Regions from separate parts of the Homo sapiens genome. Here all the other regions are linked to region 1. Evidence: promoter capture Hi-C in human tissues and cell types (Jung and others, 2019). All regions are on one chromosome and are shown on one strand. The core of a region is centred on a gene start or on the middle of the fragment in contact, and the rest is flanking DNA. Distances in the headings are between cores, read along the strand shown. Region 1 holds the start of NFIC (nuclear factor I C). Region 2 holds the start of ZBTB7A (zinc finger and BTB domain containing 7A). Region 3 holds the start of PIAS4 (protein inhibitor of activated STAT 4). Region 4 overlaps EEF2 (eukaryotic translation elongation factor 2). Region 5 holds the start of SGTA (small glutamine rich tetratricopeptide repeat co-chaperone alpha). Region 6 holds the start of ZNF555 (zinc finger protein 555).

Region 1 (3,026 bases), core at 180-2,679:
AGTTTCCTCTCCTGTAATGCCTGAGGATAATGGGTGCTGGTATCTTCTGCGCCCCTGGGCCTGGGGCACCTGCCCCAGCTTGGTGAGAGGGTATCATTTGTCCTTGGGAAGCTCAGAGAGATGAGGTGAAATGGCCAAGCTTTCTAAGAATGTGTCTTTAGTGAACATTTGACCCAAGGTCAAGGCTCTGCTAAGGTCATTGTCCTTATCCCCAGCAATCCCACAGGATGGGCATCTTTAAGCCACTTTATAGGGGAGAACCCTTGGGATGGGAATGAGAGACACAGCAGCCTCTGAGCTAGCCTGGGAGGATCCAGGGAGTGAACCGGGGGAGGGTTGGGGCCCTGTCATCAGATGCCCTGGGGGCTCAGACGGAGGCAGGCCAGGTCTCTGCCCTGTTACGTCTAGAAGGAGAACAGAATGTGGGCTCCAGGTCCAGATGGCCTGGCTCCAAGCCACACTTGCCATACCTCAGTCTTGAGATCTGTGAAAAGGGCACACCCCTGAGGCAGGTGGAAATTATTGGATACCCAGGGGGAGGCTGCAAGGGTTTATCTGGCCAGCTGGAGATCCCGCCTGGACACCGTCCTCCTGGGGTGCTGGAGAGACACACAGGCGAGGCCACCCCTCCCCTGCCCCTTGGGTGCTGGGTGAAGAGAGCAAATTCTGGAGCCTCCCGTGTTAGCCTGGGCCCTTCTGGCCAAGGAAGGGACAGCTGCACACAAGCCCCTCTAGCTGGGGACCCGCAGCCCCTGCCTGGCTCTGGGGGGAGAAGGGAGCCAGGGTGCTGTGGGACCAGCTCACCGTGCACCCAGGGTCGTACATCTTTAAGGGGAAAGAGGCGCGCTGGCCGGCCTCTGCGCACGTCACTTCTTCATTCCTTCCCTCCCCCCTGGCTCTTTCCTCCAACTTCCCGGCCAGCTCGGGGGTGATGGGGGGGTGGGGAGGGGGGGCCTTAAAAATCCACCCCTGGCCCCTCAATGTCCAGAAACAACCCTGTCCCCCCTCTCCGCTTGATCCGAATTGGGGTCGCCCTGCAGTCCTGGGGTCCTGGTCTAGTGCCCTGGGGCATTGCGTAAATACGGGAGGAGCGGGGGGGTCCTGAGACGTCGGGGGAGGCTCTCCTTTCTCGCTCGCGCCCTTTTTTCCCTCGTTTCTTTGAAAGTTGGGTGTTGAGAAGTGGGAGGTTCGGGGTGGGAGGGGGAGGGTGTCAGAGGGTAGAGAGAGAGACAGAGAGACAGAGACGGGGGAGAGAGGAAGAGAGAGACGGAGGGAGAGAGGGACAGAGAGCGAGGCGGGCGGCGCGAGAGAGGGAGAGCAGGAGGGAGGAGGAGGGAGACCGAGGGAGGAGGCGGCGAGGAGAGCGCGCCGGCCGCGGGGCGGGGGGGGGGGTTGGGGGGGGCGGGGGGGTGGTTTGGAAAAATGACTCAGTAAGTTCAGCGCGCCCGCTCCGGCCGGCCCTGCGCCTCCCGCCGCGCCCGGGATGTATTCGTCCCCGCTCTGCCTCACCCAGGTACGGTCCTCGCCCGGCCCCCCGCCGGCGCCCCCGCGCCCCCCGCATCCCAGCCCCGGAGTTTTGAAGCAGGAGGAGGCGGGACGAAAAAGGCGCGCGTCCCTCCCGCCATCCCTGCCCGGGATGCCCCCCGCGCCGAGGGCTGGGGTCCGGTGGGGGGATGGGTCAGGCTGGGGTACCCCCCCCACACCCTTACCTACCGCGGACCCCCTACGCGGGACTCCCGCCCAGCACCCCCAACCCCGACTCTCGGGACCTCTCCCGGATGTGGGGCTTGGTCTGCAGATTTGCGTCCCCCCCCCACACACCGACGCACTCCGCACCCCCGCCCCGACACTCGGAAAGGTCGGGGTGGGGGCTGGCCCCCCTCCAGCAAGGGCTCTGCGGGAAGCCCCCCGCCTGCCTCTGAGAGGAATCTAGGGGGTCGTGATTGGACCCTGGGTCTCCCCAGCTGGAGAGAAAGGGACCTCTCATGTGTTTTCCCCGTGTCCCCCCACCAAGGTTGTGCGGGCCGCCCTGGCCCTCGGTCGCCTTTCCCTCGTTATTGGCCCACGTGTGCATGGAGGGGGAGGGGGCAGGAGAAGTTGGAGGCCCAGGAGGGGGAAGGGTGCTCCGGCGGCCCGGCTGGGTCCCCCCTCCTTTGCAAGCCCCCCAGCACCGTCCCGGTATTTTCGCTGCATCGATTCTGGATTCTGGATTCTGGATTCTGGAGCCGCCGCCGGGAGGAGCGGGAGGCCCGGCGCTCCGGGTCTGGCCCGGGCACTGCGGCGCTGCGGACGCCCTCGCCAGCCCGGCACCTGCCCCGTCCCCTCCCCCTCCCCCTCCCCCTCCCGTAGCCTCTCACCCCTGGCCGCACTCCCAGACTGCCCCGGGGCCGAGCCTTGTGCAATGGCCGAGGGGGTGTGTGGGGAGGGGGCGGCTCCCCCCGGGGACTCCTTCCAGCCCAGGCTCCCGGGGACCCCGAGGTCTGCAAGTTCCGTTTTCTAGACCGCTGCTTTCCTCCTTACGCAGTGTGTCTTTAGGCTGGAGAGGTTCTGGCCTCAGTTTCCCCTGAAGTGAGGTGCGGCTAAGGCCGGTTCTGGAGAGGGGACAGTATGGCGGGCAAACTGTAAAGTCCCGGCACGTGGGGGGTGCGATTCCAGCGAGGGCCAGGCCCGTCTTAAGAAGCACTGTGTGGGGAGTATATGAGTCCCCGGCTTCCGCTCCAGGGCATGGTGCAGTGAGGGACCCCCCACGCCAGGCATGCTCCTTGGTAGGGTCTTTCTCACCGGCCCCCTGCAGCCGACAGGGAATGTGGGAGCTGGTGCTGAGGGGGTCTGAGGTCTGTCCTACCTGTGATCCCCTGAGTGACCTTGGGTAAGTCCCTGTCCCAGCCTCAGTTTCCCTTTCTGAGCAGCTTTGGGGGGGGGGTTCCCGAAGAAGGCATCTCTTTGAAGTTCTCCAAGAACAACTAGGGTTCGAGTGGGCACGCTGTGTGACCTCGGGCAGCCTTTGAAGTCTCTGGGCTTGTGGG
Region 2 (3,026 bases), core at 393-2,892, 700 kb after region 1:
GGAGCCGGACGGCCGTCCGGGCAGGGCGAGGGGCCAGGCCAGGCCCCCCACCCGGGGCTGAGTCAGGCCCGGGCGGGGGCAGGAAGCGGCCCCCTCCCCCGCCCCGGCCGCAGCGCGCGGCCCCCGCCCGGCCCGCGGTCCCCCGCCGCCTCGCCCGCGCGGGGGGCTCCTACCTCCTTCCCGGGGCAGCGGCGAGGGGGCCCGGCCCCGGCGGCGGCGGTGGCGGCGGCTGCGGCTGGGCTGGCTCCCTCCGAGGGGCCGGGAGGCGGCAGTGAGCCTGGCCCCGCGCCACCCCCCGCCGCCGGCGGCCAATCCCCACCCGGGCTGGGGGGAGGGCGATGCAAATTACCCCGGATCTGGGTCCGCCCGCCCGCCTCCCCCACGCCCGGGCCCGGCCTGCGCTAGGCCGCGCATCCCCGGGCTCGCCTGCACCGCGCGGCCGCCCGGGCCGCCGCCCTCCCCGGGGAGCGCGGGGAGGGTGACCCCCCCCCCACGGGCGGGGGGCCGAGGGGAGGGGGGCTGGGGACGGTTACACAACCAGGCGGGGAGGGGCCCCGGGGCGGGGAGGGGGCCGGCCCGCGGGCCGCGCAGCCGGAAGCCGGGACCGCCACCGGCCCCCGGCGAGGGGAGCCCGGCTCCAGGCCCCGCCCCCTGGCGGGCTGGCCCCGCCCCCGCGCCGCGCCGCGCGATCGGCCCGCGCCCATTGGCTCTCCGGCCCGCCGCTCACCGCCCCTCCTCCGCACCGCCCCTACCCGCAGGCCGCGGCGGGCTGTCGGCGCGGGGCACCCTGGGACTTGTAGTCCAAGCCGCTTGCCACCTGCCGGCTGCAAACGGCGGAGGGACTACGAAGCCCAGAGGTCCCTGCGGCCCTGCCCGCCCACCCGGACACCCCACCCCTTCCCCCTCCTTTCCGAAGCCCCCCTCCCTGTTTTTTCAGCCCCCTCCCCCCCATCCCCCATGGAGCTCAATCCTGGCCAACTCCAACGTATGCACGCAGCACCGAATAGGCCCCCGGGGGGCGAGAGCGCCCCTCGTCTTCAGCTGGAAACTTAGCAGGCGACGCGCCCCCCTATCTCCCCACGCCGGCTCCCCCCACCCTCAATGCAGCCCTGCTTCCCCTCCCCCGCTCCCCGCGCGCCTGGGAGCCCCGAAAAGCCATGCACCCGGGTTGGGGGGGGCTGGCGCACAAGCTCATGCACTTAGCCCCCAATCCCCCCTTCCCGGGCGGCGCCCCCTCCCCGCGCTCGGGATCCAGGGCGCCTCCAGCCTCCGGGCAGCTGCCAACCACCCCTTCCTCTGAAACTTGGGGGAACGTCCCCGGCTCCCCGGATCTCCCCTTCCCGAGGGGGCAGCGGTGGCCGCAGCGACCCCCGCCCGTCCCCGCCCTGCACCCCGTGCCGGGGGCCGCGCCGGGCGCTGACTTACCTCGCGGGGCCGGGCCGGGGCGCGCGGGGCCGGGGCCCGAAGTTGGGACTGGGCTCCCTCGGCCGCTCGCCTCCGGGGTCCGCGGCGCTCGCTCTGCCCGCGTCGCGCTGCCCTGGTCGCTCCCTCGCGCGGCGGCGGCGGCGTCACTGCCCCTACAGTAACTGTACAGTACAGCCAAAGCCCCGTATGATGCTCGCGACTCCCTTCCTGGTTTCTCCGAGGGCAAGAGGGGTCCTCCCTTGTCTTAAAGGTGCCGCAGCCGCCGGCCCCCCCACGCCCAGCCCGCCCCCCCCAGCCTGGCCTCGGAGGCCAGAACAGGCTCGGCAGGTCCCCTCTTGCCACGTCTCTGCCCTCCCGTGGGGCTTCGCCCGCTGCGCCGGGGAGACCGGGCTGTTATTAGGTTTTGTCAAGTCGGGGGGGGGGGTCCGGCCCGCCCCGGCGCGCCCCCCCGCCTCTGACCTCTCCGCCCCGCCGCGCGGCGCCGTGCCAGCTTGCCAGCTTATCTGGCCCCAGAGCTCCCCGGGGCGCGGGGGGAGCGGGCCCCCCGGGGTGGAGGGGGGGTGGGGGCCTCCAGATAAACAGGCCCCCAGCCTCTGCGCAGGGGCGGGGTGCGGGGGGGCGCGGGCTGTGCCCCCGACGCCCGGGGCGTGGCAGGATGGCAGCGGGGGCGGGGAGCGCGGTGCGCACAGCGAGGAGCGACGCGGGCGTGTGGGTCGCGCGGCCTGGGCTGCCGGGGGTGGGTTGGGGGTGAGGCGGTGGGGATCCCCCCGCAAGGCCAGGCCCTGGGCCTCCCCGGGCCTCAGTGGGACTTGCCGCGCCAGGGACCCCGGGGGGTGGCCTTGCCAAGGACAGCCCGGGTCCGCGGGGCTCCCGGGTCCCTAAATGAAACCACCAACCTGCCCTCCCGCGATTATATAAAGGAGTCGCCTCCACCCCGCTGCGCTAGGGGCGTCAGCGGGGGAAGGGGTTGGCGAGGGGCGGGGAGGGCGGTTGTTTTCCCGGCTTCGCGAGTTCCCCCACCCGGCTGCGGGCCGCGGGGCGGGACGGGGACCGGGCCCTGGACGCCTGGTCCGCGCGGGCCGCTCCTTGGCACAAGGGGGTCTGCATGGCTCGCGAGGGGCGGAGGTGGGGAGTGGGGAGGCGTTGGTTCAGCGCGACTTTTTTTTTTCCCCTGTCCGTTTCTCCCACTTCCTCCCCGGTCGTGGGAGAGGTCCGGCGGGGGACAGGGAAGGGGGAGCAGGGCACGAGTGGTGAGAACGTCCTGGCCCGGCCCGGGGAGGGCTGGCTGGTGCGACCGCGCGCCTGGGGGGGGGGGGGAGGGCTCCAGGACTCAGTTTCCCCTTCCTCATTCCTCCAGACAGAGAGAGTACTGACAGCTGCTTTAGCTGCCGTTTAGTGAGCGCTTATCCAGTGGGTGACCCTGTTCCGGGGCTCACTGTGCCTTCATTCTAACACCTAATCCCAGGGTCATTATTATGTTTTATTATTATCTGGCATTCTTAGTACCAACACCACCTGACAGCGGGAACCACCACCGGCCTGGGTGTAGTGTACCCAGCCTGTCCTCTGACTTCAAAGCCTCTCCTGCGAGAGACACAGTT
Region 3 (3,026 bases), core at 318-2,817, 640 kb after region 1:
CTCGGGAGGCTGAGGCAGGAGAATCACTTGAACCCGGGAGGCAGAGGATGCACTGAGCCGAAATTGCGCCACTGCACTCCAGCCTGGCGCCACTGCACTCCAGCCTGGTGACAAAGCAAGACTCCGTCTAAAAAAAAAAAAATTAGCTGGGTATGGTGGTGCATACCTGTAATCCCAGCTACTCGGGAGGCTGAGGCAGGGGAATCGCTTGAACCCAGGAGGCAGAGGTTGCAGTGAGTGGAGATCGCTCCATTGCACTCCAGCCTGGGCAACACAGCAAGGCTCTCAAAAAAAAAAAAAAAAAAGGCTGGGCATGATGGCTCATGCCTGTAATCCTAGTACTTTGGGAGGTTGAAGCGGGCAGATCACTTGAGGTCAGGGGTTGCAGAAAAGCCTGGCCAAAAAAAAAATTAGCTGGGCGTGGTGGCAGTCGCCTGTAATCCCACCTACTTGGGAGGCTGAGGCAGGAGAATCCCTTGAACCCGGGAGATGGAGGTTGCAGTGAGCTGAGATCGCGCCATTGCACTCCAGCCTGGGCAACAAGAGTAAAACTCCGTCTCGAAAATAAATAAATAAATAACAATTTGGTATTTCATCCATCATGGACTCTTTTGCACTGATTTTTTTATGTTTAAAGTGTTGGACTAGCCAGGTGTGGTGACTCGCGCCTGTAATCCCAGCACTGTGGGAGGCCCAGACAGAAGGATCATTTAAGCCCAGACATTCGAGACCACCCTGGATAACATAATGAGATCCTCGTCTCTACAAAAATAAAAATAAAAAATAAATTGCACTAAAATACTTGATTATTGAAGTTTGAAATCCACTTCTACGGGCACGAAGCCACTTAGCTCCAAAGCCAAGGAGCGCTTTGGAGAAGAGGTCCCAACTGGTGCAGATCCAAGGTTTCCCATGGGTGGGGAGGCAGGATGGGGGGGGCGCCTGCAAAGAGGTGAGGGCTGTACGATCTCCAAGGAATTTGGGAGCAGGGGTCCCGCTTTTCTCCGCCGGGCGCCCCCAGCCAGCTGGTTGCCGAGCCCACGCCCCATCTGCACACCAGGACCCGGATGTGCAGCGCGCGGGGTGTCTGGGCCCGTGGAGCCTGCACCGCGCTGCGCTGCAAGGCGCCTCACTGTACGCACTGGCGGCCGTTGCGGCGGAGCAACCATCCCCTGCCCGACGCCGCCGGGAGTCTGGAGACGCACCTGGCGGCCGCCGCGCGCAGGAAGCCACGGCACCTAGCTGCATTGTTGTCGCTGCCACCGCCCCCTCTCGCCTTCCCTCCCTAGAGGAAACCGAGCACCCGTCCCCACCTGCGCAGGGCTAGTACCACTTTAAGGAGTCAGGCGCCGCCGGGGTAGGCGTGGTCGCCGCGAGCGGGGGGGGGGGCGCTGGTGTAGGACGGACCTGATTGGCCGGAGGCCCGGGCGGTGGCCGCGCGCGCCTGCGCAGGAGGCAGCAGCGCGCACCGGCGGCGGGAGGAGCGCGCGCGGGTGCTAATTGGCCCGGGCGGCGGCCCCGCCCGCGAGTGGTGAGCGGTCACGTGACGCGACGGCTGGGGGCTCCCGGCGCGGGGGACGCTGGTGACCAAGATGGCGGCGGAGCTGGTGGAGGCCAAAGTGAGTGAGCGGTGGCGGCGCCGGCCGGGGCAAGTGGGCGAGAGGGCGGGGGCCGGGCCGCAGGTCGAGGTCTGCGCCTTCTGTCCGGGGCCCCACAGCGCGGCCGGCCCGCGGCTCGCCGTCCCGGCCCCCAGACCCCGACCCCCGGTCTCAGGGTGAGGGCGGGGGGCGGGGAGGCCGGGGGCGGGGCCCTCCTGCCTCACCCAGGTCTTCGCGCCGGGGGTCGCTCCCCCGGCTTCAGGCAGGGTCCCCCCACCCAGCCCGAGCCCTTAGGGTCCCGGTCCCTGAGCGCCAGGCCAGGGCCGCGCCTCCCGGTTGAGGCACCGTCCCGCCGGGATGCGGGACGTGTTGAGCTACTCGTTGCCCTCTTGGTTCCGAGCCGGGGTCCTTGCTTTTTGGCTGGTGTGTTGGGGGGAGTGTCTGCGCCTCCCCGCCCACAGGGCTCCCAGGACTGCTATCTGGGTCTCGTCCCCGCCCAACAGGCCAGGCTGGGGTTTGCGAGTCTCCTGCTCGGAAGGGTCCCCCGAGTCCTGGATAGTGTCCTGCCACCGTCCAGGTGGAGGAGTCAGGGCCCTGAGACCACCCCCAAGACACGGCACGTCCTCTTGGGGTCTGGAGTTCAGGCTCGGTCTTGAGCCCCTCTTCAGCTCCTGCATTGGTCCCAGAACCCCGCCCCCTTCCCGACACCGTCTCTCACACGCCGGAGTGGGCGCTTGGGGGAAGGCTGGGCCCTCCCTTTCCCTCCCCATAGGATGGAGTTCGGACCACTCTTCTTGGTCACAGACCTTCTTTATTCTCCTTTTTTTAATCTTAAATCCTGGACTGTGCTTTGGTCCTACCTCGTTCCTCTCGGGACAGAATCTGAGGCTACTGATTCTGCTTCAGGGGGCTCTAAACCTCACCTGTGCAGCATCAGATACTGTCCTCAAACCTTGGCTGCTTCTCCTATTTTCTGCTCTTGAGCGAGTCTACTTCTTAGGTCAGACACCCACCCTCCCCCTACACAGCCCCCAGAACTTTTATGCACCCCAACTTTGGTTTCTAAGGTCCCCTCTCTTTCTGCCTATTCTCTTTTGTTGATCTCTGGAGGGTCCCCACTGGGTCCAAGGCTGGCCTCTTTAGAACAACTGTTGCTGCTGCTCTATTATACTTTGGGTCCTGTCCAGGTCCCATGTCCCATAGATACCATCTCCTAGCTTGGAACCACTTTTAATCATCCTGGGATTGAGCTCAGAGTATCCCCATTCCAGGGGATGTACCTTCTTGTAGGTGCCTACCTAGAGCTGAGGGTCTAAAACCCTTAGAAGTGCCCGCAAGGCCACGGCTTCCGGGGAGGTTAGGGGACCTCTCCCTCCCCCATCCCCTTTCACATCTTCCCTCCCCACGGTCCTGACCTGTACGTATCTT
Region 4 (3,026 bases), core at 293-2,792, 610 kb after region 1:
CAGGCGCCTGAAGTCCCAGCTACAGGAGGCTGAGGCAGGAGAATGGCGTGAACCTGGGAAGCAGAGCTTGCAGTGAGCCAAGATCACGCCATTGCACTCCAGCCTAAGCAACAGAGCAAGACTCTTGTCTCAAAAAAAAAAAAAAAAAAAAAAAAAAAATAGCCCTGGGCCAGGCATGGTGGCTCACACCTGTAATCCCAGCACTTTGGGAGGCCGAGGCAGGGGGATCACGAGGTCAGGAGATCGAGACCATCTTGACTTACTAACACAGTGAAACCCCGCCTCTACTAAAAATACAAAAAAAAATTAGCCGGGCGTGGTAGCACGCGCCTGTAGTCCCAGTTACTCAGGAAGCTGAGTGAGGCAAGAGAATCGCTTGAACCCGGGAGGTGGAGGTTCTAGCGAGCCAAGATCACGCCACTGCACTCCAGCCTGGATGACACAGCGAGACTATCTCAAAAAAAACAACAACAACAACAAAAACAGCCCCACATGCCTGTGGAAGACTGCAAAGAAGAAACTTGAGGAACTTAAGAAGCTGAGACCAAGACCGAGATCAAGTCTAGGCGTCTGCAGAGCCTAGCTCAGCTCAGCTTTAAAGCAGAGGGCAGGTGTCCGGGGTGGGGCGTGGGGAAGGCTGGTCACTGGCGCCTCACCTTGATGGGGATGCAGGCGTGGTCCTCCTCCAGGTCCTTCAGGCAGATCTCCAGGTGCAGCTCGCCGGCGCCCGCGATGATATGCTCTCCCGACTCCTCGATGATGCACTGAAAGGGATGCGGGTCAGCACCAAAGGGGTAGGCGGCTCGGAACAGGCGGGACCAGGCTCCCAGCTTCCCTTTAGCTAGGGACCCCGCCAGAACAAGATTTCAGGGAAGGTGCTGGGAAACTGGGACCAGCACAAACTCCTGAAGAAATGTTAAGTCCCACAAGCTACAGTGAACACGCGCAGAGCAGCCTAGGAGAGGGTGGTGGCTGCCTGGGCAGGAGTCTCCATTTACAGCCACAGCCAAGAACCCCTCCTTTCATGACCAGTCACCCCAATCCACCAACCACAGCAACCCACACAGCCACAACTCAGGACACAAGCCGTCCCCCCTCAGGGTGTCTGCTCCCAGCAGGTGCACTCCGTGCCCACCTGCACCATGGGGTCGGACTTGGCCAGCCGCTTCAGCCCCTCCACCAGCTTGGGCAGGTCAGCCGGGTTCTTGGCCTCCACGGCCACTCTGACAACAGGGCTGACGCTGAACTTCATCACCCGCATGTTGTGCGCGTGCTCGAAGGTGGTGATGGTGCCCGTCTTCACCAGGAACTGGTCCACGCCCACGAGGCCCACAATGTTCCCACAAGGCACATCCTCGATGGGCTCCACGTAGCGGCCCATCATCAAGATTGTTCTGGAAGAAGCAGAAGGCGGCAGCAGGCCGCAGGGATGGTTGTGCTGGACCCTGGAGGGCCAGGGCAGGTCCCTCCCGGAGTTGGTGGCCCTCCTGCCAGGTCCCAGGGCAGACTGGTGGCTTCCACAAGGCCCTGACTGCTGCGTCGGGGCTGTCAGGAAACATCCTCTTCAGAATCACTGCCCTCCTCCCTGGGTATGGGTCGACGGCCGCCACCCACCTGTGCCCAGGGACACAGATGAGCAGGGGTGTGCTGTGCCCTGGGGCTTGGAGCTTCTCCAGAAATGCCCTCACTGGGCTAAGAACAAAAGTTGTGGCTGGCACAAGTATCACCCTATATTCCTTCTATGCTCCTTACTTCTAGCTCCCGACTGAGGAGCCCAAGACTTGGAGCAGGGCAGGGCCCGCAACAGTGCCAAGGGGCCTGCACATCACCCAGCTGCTCACCTCTGGATTGGCTTCAGGTAGAGGTCCTCCTTCTTCCCAGGGGTATAGTTGGGCCCCATGATCCTGACCTTCAGGCCAGTGGAGACCAGCCCCGAGAAGACTCGTCCAAAGGCGTAGAACCGACCTTTGTCGGAGGTTGGCACCATTTTGGAAATATACATCATAAGAGGGCCTTTGGGGTCACAGCTTTTAATGCCTGAGGGACAGAGAAAACCCGCAAGCTTTATTCCAGTGCAGCTCAGCCTTCTGGAACCCTGCAACCCACAACCTTGGGCAACAGGAAGTCATCCGGCTGCATCTCAGGGCCCGGCCACCGGGACCACGTACCCATGGCAGCCTCGTCGTCCGGGGGCCCCTCGTACAGGAGCTCGCAGCGGTACTTCTGGGCCGTCACAGGGGAGGGCAGGTGGATGGTGATCATCTGCAACAAGGCGTCTCCGGCAGGCAGCCAGCGGCGCATCACAGCCTGCGGGGGCAGAGAGCGGTGCATGAGACACCTGGGGAGCCCAGGATGGCCCCACCCCGTACACGCTTCCTCTCTTGAAGCCAAGGAAGCCAAAGTCAGGACTAACGTTCTCCAAAGCACAGTCCCTTCTGGAAGGCGGCAAAGGCCATGCACACTCCTGCCAAGGCCCTCACCCACACCTGTCCCGGATGGGGCTGGCTGCTGGGATGTGTCTCCAGCAGCACCCAGAGTCTAAAGCGAAAGGGGCAGCAGCTGTCCCTGCCCAGCTGAGGACTTCAGCCCCCAGGCCTGGGCTGTCAGAGCATCCGGAAACAGCAGCCTGTGTTCCCTCCACCCCGAGGGCTGGGCCCAGGCCGCACCTTCAGCAGGGGTTTGCCTTCTTTGTCCTTGTCCTCGCTGTCCAGTTTGATGTCCAGTTTCTCTATCAGTTTTGCTGTCTCCTCTTTCTTGAAATTCATGATCGCATCAAACACCTACATTCCCCACCAAGAAACAAGAAAGCCCATTTGGGAACAGCAGGAGGAAGCCTGGCACTGCTTCCTGCTTGGAAGACTCAGGTCAGCGCAGGGGGACGCAGCACGGGAGCAGGAGCAGGCCTGGCCTGCCTACCACGGGCCCAGCCAGCTGAGCGGATCGGGAGCTGGAGGAAACCTCGTGGTGGAGCAGAGGAAAAAGCCCACTCTGACTCAGACAAGGACCCAAGTTCTGACTTACAAGCA
Region 5 (3,026 bases), core at 137-2,636, 580 kb before region 1:
GCTGGAGTGCAGTGGCATGATGTTGGGTCACTGCAACCTCTGCCTCCTGGGTTCAAGGGATTCTCCTGCCTCAGCCTCCTGAGTAGCTGGGATTACAGGTGCACACCACCATGCCCAGCTAATTTTCATATTTTCAGTAGAGACGGGGTTTCACCACGTTGGCTAGGCTGGTCTTGAACTCCTGACCTCAGGTCATCAGCCCGTATGGTAGGGTTTTTAAAGCATTATTGACATTTAAAGCTGGATCATTTTCTGGGGTGAGGCCGTCCTGGGTACTGCAGGGTGCCGAGCAGCAACCCTGGCCTCCACCAACTCCAAACCAGGGGGTCCCCCAAATCATGACAAGCACAAATGTCACCAAGAATCCCTGGGGCACAGAATTGTTCCTGGTTGAGAACCACTGGTCAAGGGAGGGAAAAGGCAGACAAAAGGAATAATCAGAGACAGAAACAAAAGAAAATGGGACAATCATTCAACCTCTGAAGGGCACACTACACTGCAATTTTCTGGCACCTAATAACAAAAACAGCTATTCTCAAGCCAGCTCTCTCTTATCAAGTTCCAGGCACCTGATCAAATAATTGAATGTGGGTTTATCCTCATAATGACCCTCCGAGGCATCTGCTTTTACAACTCGTTTGCGAAAGAAGGAACAGTTTGCTCAGAGAGGGAAGGCGACTCACCCAGGTTTACACAGCGGGTGGGAGGTGGTGGTGGACGGTCCTGAATCCCAGATTTCCCCCACCTCTAGCACGATATGCAGAAGAAGACTCTAAACATGATATAAGACGAACGCCTGCTAATTCTTTGGAGTTCTCAGATTCCGCTGGACCCTGCGGCTCTCCTTCTCCTAGGCAGGGACTTTTGAACAACGCCCGTTTTACAGAGGGGAAAACTGAGGCTCCGAGAAGCCAAGAGGCTGGGCAAGGTCACCCAGGTAGGGACTGGCGGCGCTGGAACCAGAGTTCCGACTTCAGTCCCCACAAACGGGGGTCCCTGAGTCACAGGGACGACGTTTCCAGGCGGTTAATAAGAGCGGAACGGCAGCGAACACCCAGCGAGCGCTCACTACATGCGGGGCGCCTTCCCCTCCCGCCGTCCTCGCCACCAGGCCGCGGACCAGCATTTCCAGGACCTGGGGCCTGGGGAAGGGAGATCAGGGCTCGAAGGGCCTGCCCGATGGCGCCCGGCCTCAGTTTCCCCTCCGCACCGCCTACTCACAGGACCCCGCGGGTCGCGGTGACCCTGGCCTCACGATCCCCAAACTCTTACGAGCTTTGGGGCCCCGTGGGCCCCGAGCCGCAGACCCCAGACCCACCAGGCTCAGCGCAGTGCCCCTCACTCACCTCTCAGGCGACCGATCCCCGACCCACCGACGGTTGCGCTTGCGCACCGCGGTGCCGCCCGGCCCCGGCCCCAGGGCGCGACGCCTGCGCAAAAGAAAGGCGCCCGGAGTTGCTTCCCTTCTGCACAGGCGCGTTAATGATGGAGGCGGGCGTGGAAGGAAGTGACGCAACGTAGAGGCGGGAACCAGCTGGTTGTTAGGGCAACTGACCTCTGCGACCTAATGGAGGCCGGAAATCGGGTCTGGTTTGCCCTCTAGAGCGGGAATGAAGCGGTGCACGGTGGAACAGTGGCTGACTCCAGCCGGTCGCCGAGCTGACCACGTGGTGCTGGGCCGGCCACGTGGTGCAGCCGCGTTTGGACACCTGGACTCCAGAGCGTCACAGCTGCGCAATGAATGGGAGTCAGTGTTACCCGCTTACTATCTTTGTTCATTTATTCACCCACCCATCTACTCACCCACAAATGCATTCTTTCATGCAGTGTGAGACGTTTGTGAGTATAGAGCCATTTGTAGACAGCAGGTGCCTAATATTCATTCAATATTTATTGCAAAGCAGCCATAAAAACCAGCAAAGTGTCTACTCTCATTATTTTGCATTGGGGTAGACGGACTATAAACTAATAAACTAGTACATAAATAGAGAAACAAATTTCACAGCAAACACTAAGAAAAAAAAAATGAAGGTAGTGTGATTGTCACTGGGAGCTAAGTCGCATGGGATGGGTAGGAAAGATCATCCTTTACATTTGGATTTCAAGGATAGGAAAGTCCAAACGGACCCCAGGCACAGGGAACAGCGAAAATGAACGCCGATGTAAAATTAATCTTGGTGTTGCTCAAGACATGTGATGAGACATTTCCAAGGACGACAGAAAACTGATCACCATCTAAGTTACAGTTGCCAGAAATGTTCTCCCAATTCATTTTCGTCCTACTCAAAATACATGCACGATTAATGGCGTGGATTATTTTAATTTCTTTTGCAGAAATAAAGGAGGTGAGGCCGGCCGTGGTGGCTCACGCCTGTAATCCCAGCACTTTGGGAGGCCAGGGGGCAGATCACTTGATGTCAGGAGTTCGAGACCAGCCTGGCCAACACGGTGAAACCCTGTATCTACTAAAAATGCAAAAATTAGCCGGGCGTGGTGCGGGCATTTGTAGTCCCAGCTACTCGGGACGCTGAGACAGGAGAATCGCTTGAACCCGAGAGGCAGAGGTTGCAGCGAGCCGAGATCGCGCCATTGCACTCCAGCCTGGGCGACTGAGCGAGACTCCCTCCAGCCCCTCCAAAGCAAAAGAAAACAAAACAAAAACAAAAAAAGGGAAGAAAGGAGGTCGGTTGTTTTGGTTTTTGCCAGTTTAATTGTAGTACATTGTTTTTTCTGGGTGCCCTAACAGTTCAAGACAGATGGTTCAAGATGTTTTTTGTTTTAACCCACAACACTGCATGTAGGTCAGGCTACTGCACTGTTCCACAACACCTGTTATTTGACATGAATCCGTTTACTTGCTTTTGTTTCTGACAAAAAAAAAAAAAAAAAAAAAAACTTGGCCCGGCGCGGTGGCTCACACCTGTAATCCCAGCACTTTGGGAGGCCGAGGCGGGCGGATCACGAGGTCAAGAGATCAAGACCATCCTGGCCAACATGGTGAAACCCCCTCTTTACTAAAAATACAA
Region 6 (3,026 bases), core at 386-2,885, 530 kb before region 1:
ACCTCTGCCTCCCTGGGTTCAAGCGATTCTTTTTGTTTTTGTTGTTGTTGTTTGTTTGTTTGTTTGTTTTTGAGACGGAGTCTCGCTTTGTCACCCAGGCTGGAGTGGTGGAGTGCAGTGGCGCGATCTCGGCTCACTGCAACCTCTGCCTCCCGGGTTCACGCCATTCTCCCGCCTCAGCCTCCCGAGTAGCTGGGACTACAGGCACCCGCCACCAGGCCTGGCTAATTTTTTTGTATTTTTTAGTAGAGACGGGGTTTCACCGTGTTAGCCAGGATGGTCTCGATCTCCTGACCTCGTGATCCGCCCGCCTCGGCCTCCCAAAGTGCTGGGATTACAGGCGTGAGCCACCGTGCCCGGCCTCAAGCGATTCTCTTGCCTCAGCCTCCCTAGCTGGGATTACAGGTGCGCGCCACCACGCCCGGCTAATTTTGTATTTTTAGTAGAGACAGGGTTTTGCCATGTTGGGCAGGCTGGTCTTGAACTCCTGACCTCAGGTGATCCGCCCGCCTCGGCCTCCCAAAGTGCTGGGATTACAGGCGTGAGCCACAGCGCCCGGCCAGCTTTTCAATCTTCCAAATTTTGGGGGGATGTACTTAAAAAAATGATCTGAAAACATTTTCCTTAGAGTTTAAAATATGAACTTGAGAGTTTTTTTGTTTTTTAATATGGAGTCTCACTCTGTCGCCCAGGCTAGACTGCAGTGGGGCGATCTCGGGTCACTACAACCTCCACCTCTCGGGTTCAAGCAATTCTCCTGCCCCAGCATCCCCAGTAGCTGAGATTACAGGCGCCCGGCACCACGCCGGGCTGATTTCTGTATTTTTAGTAGAGAAAGGGTTTCACCATATTGGCCACGATGGTCTCAAACTCCTGAACTCAGATGATCCGTCCACCTCGGTCTCCCAAAGTGCTGGGATTACAGGCGTGAGCCACTGCGCCCAGCCAAATGTGAGGGTTTTAATGAACATCTCATATCTTCTGGTTGATTTGAGCAAAGCTCCTGCCCCCTGCCAGGCTTTGGGTTCGGCCTCCCCCAGACCGGGTCTCCGGATTCGCAGCCCCCTGGGCGGGGTCTCCATGTCGCCCGCAGCGCGATGACGTCACGTCTGCGGGTCCCGCCCCCACGTAGGTCTCGGCCCTTCGGACCCGGCGCCCAGCCCCCGTTCGCCCTGCCAGGCCCGGGCCGCCCGCTTGCATCCACCTCCTGTCCGGACAAGGGGTCGCCTCGTGAGGAAACTAGTCTGGAGTTCCCACGCCCGTCCCGGAGGAGGACGCGGGCGGGGCGCCCGAACTGCGGGGAGAGGGCGATTCCGCCCCGGGCTGAAACCAGTTCGCCCAGAAGCCAGTGTCCCCGCAGGGCGGGACAGCCACGCGTGTTCGCAACGCTCCCGTCACTCACCGGCAGGGGGTGGGCCCTAGGGAACTACCCAGTCAGGACGGGCGGGGGCGGGGCCGAGACAAGTATCCAATGAGGGACGCCCAATCGGAATCCGGGGAACTGCCCAATTTACAGCGCCAGGGGACGGACTGGGGAATTCTCCAATCAGAGTCGCCGACGTTGGCAGCACTGTCCAATCAGAAGCGCGGCTTCCCGAGCTCTGTCTAATCAGGCCCCTGGGACGGGACGCCTCTGTCCTAGCCGTGAGTGCCCCGCCTGCCCCTAGCGGTCCCTGGCGTCCCGGTTCCTGTCGCGCTCACCTGCGCCGGTAGCGAAGAAATCGCCCCGGGACATGGTGAGTGTGGCGCAGGAGAGGATCCCGGTGCGGGGCAGCAGGAACCGGCGACCGCCCGAGACCGCGGCTTGGGGGGAGCTGAGGGACGCGGGGGGCGGCCCCGGCGAGGGCGGCGCAGGACGGGAGCCTGGGCCCCGGGGGTCCCGCCCGGCCCCGCCTCCCGCGCTGAGGTCGCGGCTAGGGCGCTCCGAGCTCCGGGTCCCCGCCCGCCTCTGGCCCCAAGGCTGCAGAGCGGGGAGCGGCGCCCGGAGCCCGACTCCGTCCCCGTCGTCCCGGGGTCCCCGCGTCCCTGCGCTCCCGACCCCCCACGCCCCGCCCGGGGCCGCGACGCCTCGGAGCGTTTCGCTGCGGCTTCGGGACCCCCGGGCCGCGGGAGGCAGAGTCGCCCGAGACCCCGAGGTGCGGTCCAGGCTCCCCCGGGACCCGCCCTGGGGCCGACGCCGCGGTGCCTCCTGGGGTGCGGGTCCCTGGTCGGTGCCGCCTCCGCTCGCGCTCCCGCGGCTCAGCTCCTTGGAGGCCCCGCGCCTCCGGCCGCGGTCTCTGGGGGACCCTGGGTTCCTCCCGGGACAGCCCGGGAGCGGTGGGGCCTCGGCGGGGGCGGAGACGCCCCCACCTGCAAAGGCAGCCCCTGGGGCGTGCGAGGTTTCCTCCCCTGAGTCCCGGTTTTCCTTCTTGAGGACTTCTTGTCCCCTCTGACCCCAAGATGCCTGGGGTAGGTAAGGGGAAAAAAAACAAGGGTTCCTGGTCCCTGGGCTCTCACACACAAGGAAGAAAAGTAACTGAAAAGACTAGAGAAACAAGGGAGAGCGAGGACCCCAAAAGCAAACGCACGCAGACCCACAGCGGGGACGCCCGGGAGGCTGGTGCATTAGTGTCCTCGGACTGCTGTAGCAACTGACTGCAAACGAGGGGGCTAAAACCACGGAAATATATTCTTTCACGGTTCCCTAGAAAGTGTGGATTTGAAGACGTTTCTCAGTTCTGTTTTGAGTACTAGCAATGGGATTCCTTGCTGAGGCAACACCTGAGTTGGGGGTGGGAGGGCGTCCGTCGTGGTAGCCTGGCCAGACTTGACCCCTCCCTGGGTTTGTCACTGTGAAAAGATTTTCCTTTTTTCGAGTCAGCAGTTTTTAGGAAGTGAAACGTACATTTAATTAGTAGAAGTTGGAAGATAAAATATTTCCAGGCCGGGCGCGGTGGCTCAAGCCTGTCATCCCAGCACTGTGACAGGCCGAGGGGAGCAGATTACTTGAGGTCAGGAGTTGGGGACCAGCCTGGCCAACATGGAGA

The links. Contacts are between HindIII fragments. The study calls those that stand out against the background at their distance.
Region 2: a contact is called between the fragment with the promoter of ZBTB7A here and the fragment with the promoter of NFIC in region 1, in 1 of the 25 tissues and cell types used here (dorsolateral prefrontal cortex).
Region 3: the fragment with the promoter of PIAS4 here is called in contact with the fragment with the promoter of NFIC in region 1 in 1 of the 25 tissues and cell types used here (spleen).
Region 4: a contact is called between a fragment that was not itself captured here and the fragment with the promoter of NFIC in region 1, in 1 of the 25 tissues and cell types used here (lymphoblastoid cells).
Region 5: the fragment with the promoter of SGTA here is called in contact with the fragment with the promoter of NFIC in region 1 in 1 of the 25 tissues and cell types used here (spleen).
Region 6: a contact is called between the fragment with the promoter of ZNF555 here and the fragment with the promoter of NFIC in region 1, in 3 of the 25 tissues and cell types used here (dorsolateral prefrontal cortex, heart left ventricle and small bowel).

Annotation. Positions count from the first base shown.
Region 1 is chr19:3,365,154-3,368,179 of GRCh38, forward strand. It overlaps NFIC (nuclear factor I C), which reads left to right and starts at 1,430. Exons shown (of 11, transcript NM_001245002.2): 1 at 1,430-1,513. The coding sequence starts at 1,484. RefSeq lists silencers at 1,059-1,148, 1,599-1,748, 2,039-2,438. The HindIII fragment of the contact is 27,364 bases long and covers 1-3,026 here.
Region 2 is chr19:4,065,257-4,068,282 of GRCh38, forward strand. It overlaps ZBTB7A (zinc finger and BTB domain containing 7A), which reads right to left and starts at 1,643. Exons shown (of 3, transcript NM_015898.4): 1 at 1,426-1,643. RefSeq lists silencers at 174-943, 1,424-1,623, 1,634-1,683, 1,724-1,783, 1,994-2,103 and 1 more. The HindIII fragment of the contact is 23,363 bases long and covers 1-3,026 here.
Region 3 is chr19:4,006,169-4,009,194 of GRCh38, forward strand. PIAS4 (protein inhibitor of activated STAT 4) reads left to right here and starts at 1,568. Exons shown (of 11, transcript NM_015897.4): 1 at 1,568-1,619. The coding sequence starts at 1,593. RefSeq lists enhancers at 594-1,485, 1,002-1,131, 1,486-2,376 and silencers at 1,332-1,631, 1,662-1,721. The HindIII fragment of the contact is 22,791 bases long and covers 1-3,026 here.
Region 4 is chr19:3,978,673-3,981,698 of GRCh38, forward strand. It overlaps EEF2 (eukaryotic translation elongation factor 2), which reads right to left. Exons shown (of 15, transcript NM_001961.4): 7 at 2,667-2,780; 8 at 2,169-2,307; 9 at 1,842-2,037; 10 at 1,136-1,394; 11 at 657-764. Among named protein-coding and RNA genes, the nearest start is that of SNORD37, 2.4 kb to the right of the region's middle. RefSeq lists an enhancer at 2,801-3,026. The HindIII fragment of the contact is 5,039 bases long and covers 1-3,026 here.
Region 5 is chr19:2,781,887-2,784,912 of GRCh38, forward strand. SGTA (small glutamine rich tetratricopeptide repeat co-chaperone alpha) reads right to left here and starts at 1,387. Exons shown (of 12, transcript NM_003021.4): 1 at 1,347-1,387. RefSeq lists enhancers at 153-252, 1,749-1,818 and a silencer at 1,309-1,358. The HindIII fragment of the contact is 32,124 bases long and covers 1-3,026 here.
Region 6 is chr19:2,839,840-2,842,865 of GRCh38, forward strand. It overlaps ZNF555 (zinc finger protein 555), which reads left to right and starts at 1,636. Exons shown (of 4, transcript NM_152791.5): 1 at 1,636-1,736. The coding sequence starts at 1,734. RefSeq lists silencers at 1,097-1,206, 1,217-1,406, 1,627-1,926, 1,967-2,016. The HindIII fragment of the contact is 15,507 bases long and covers 1-3,026 here.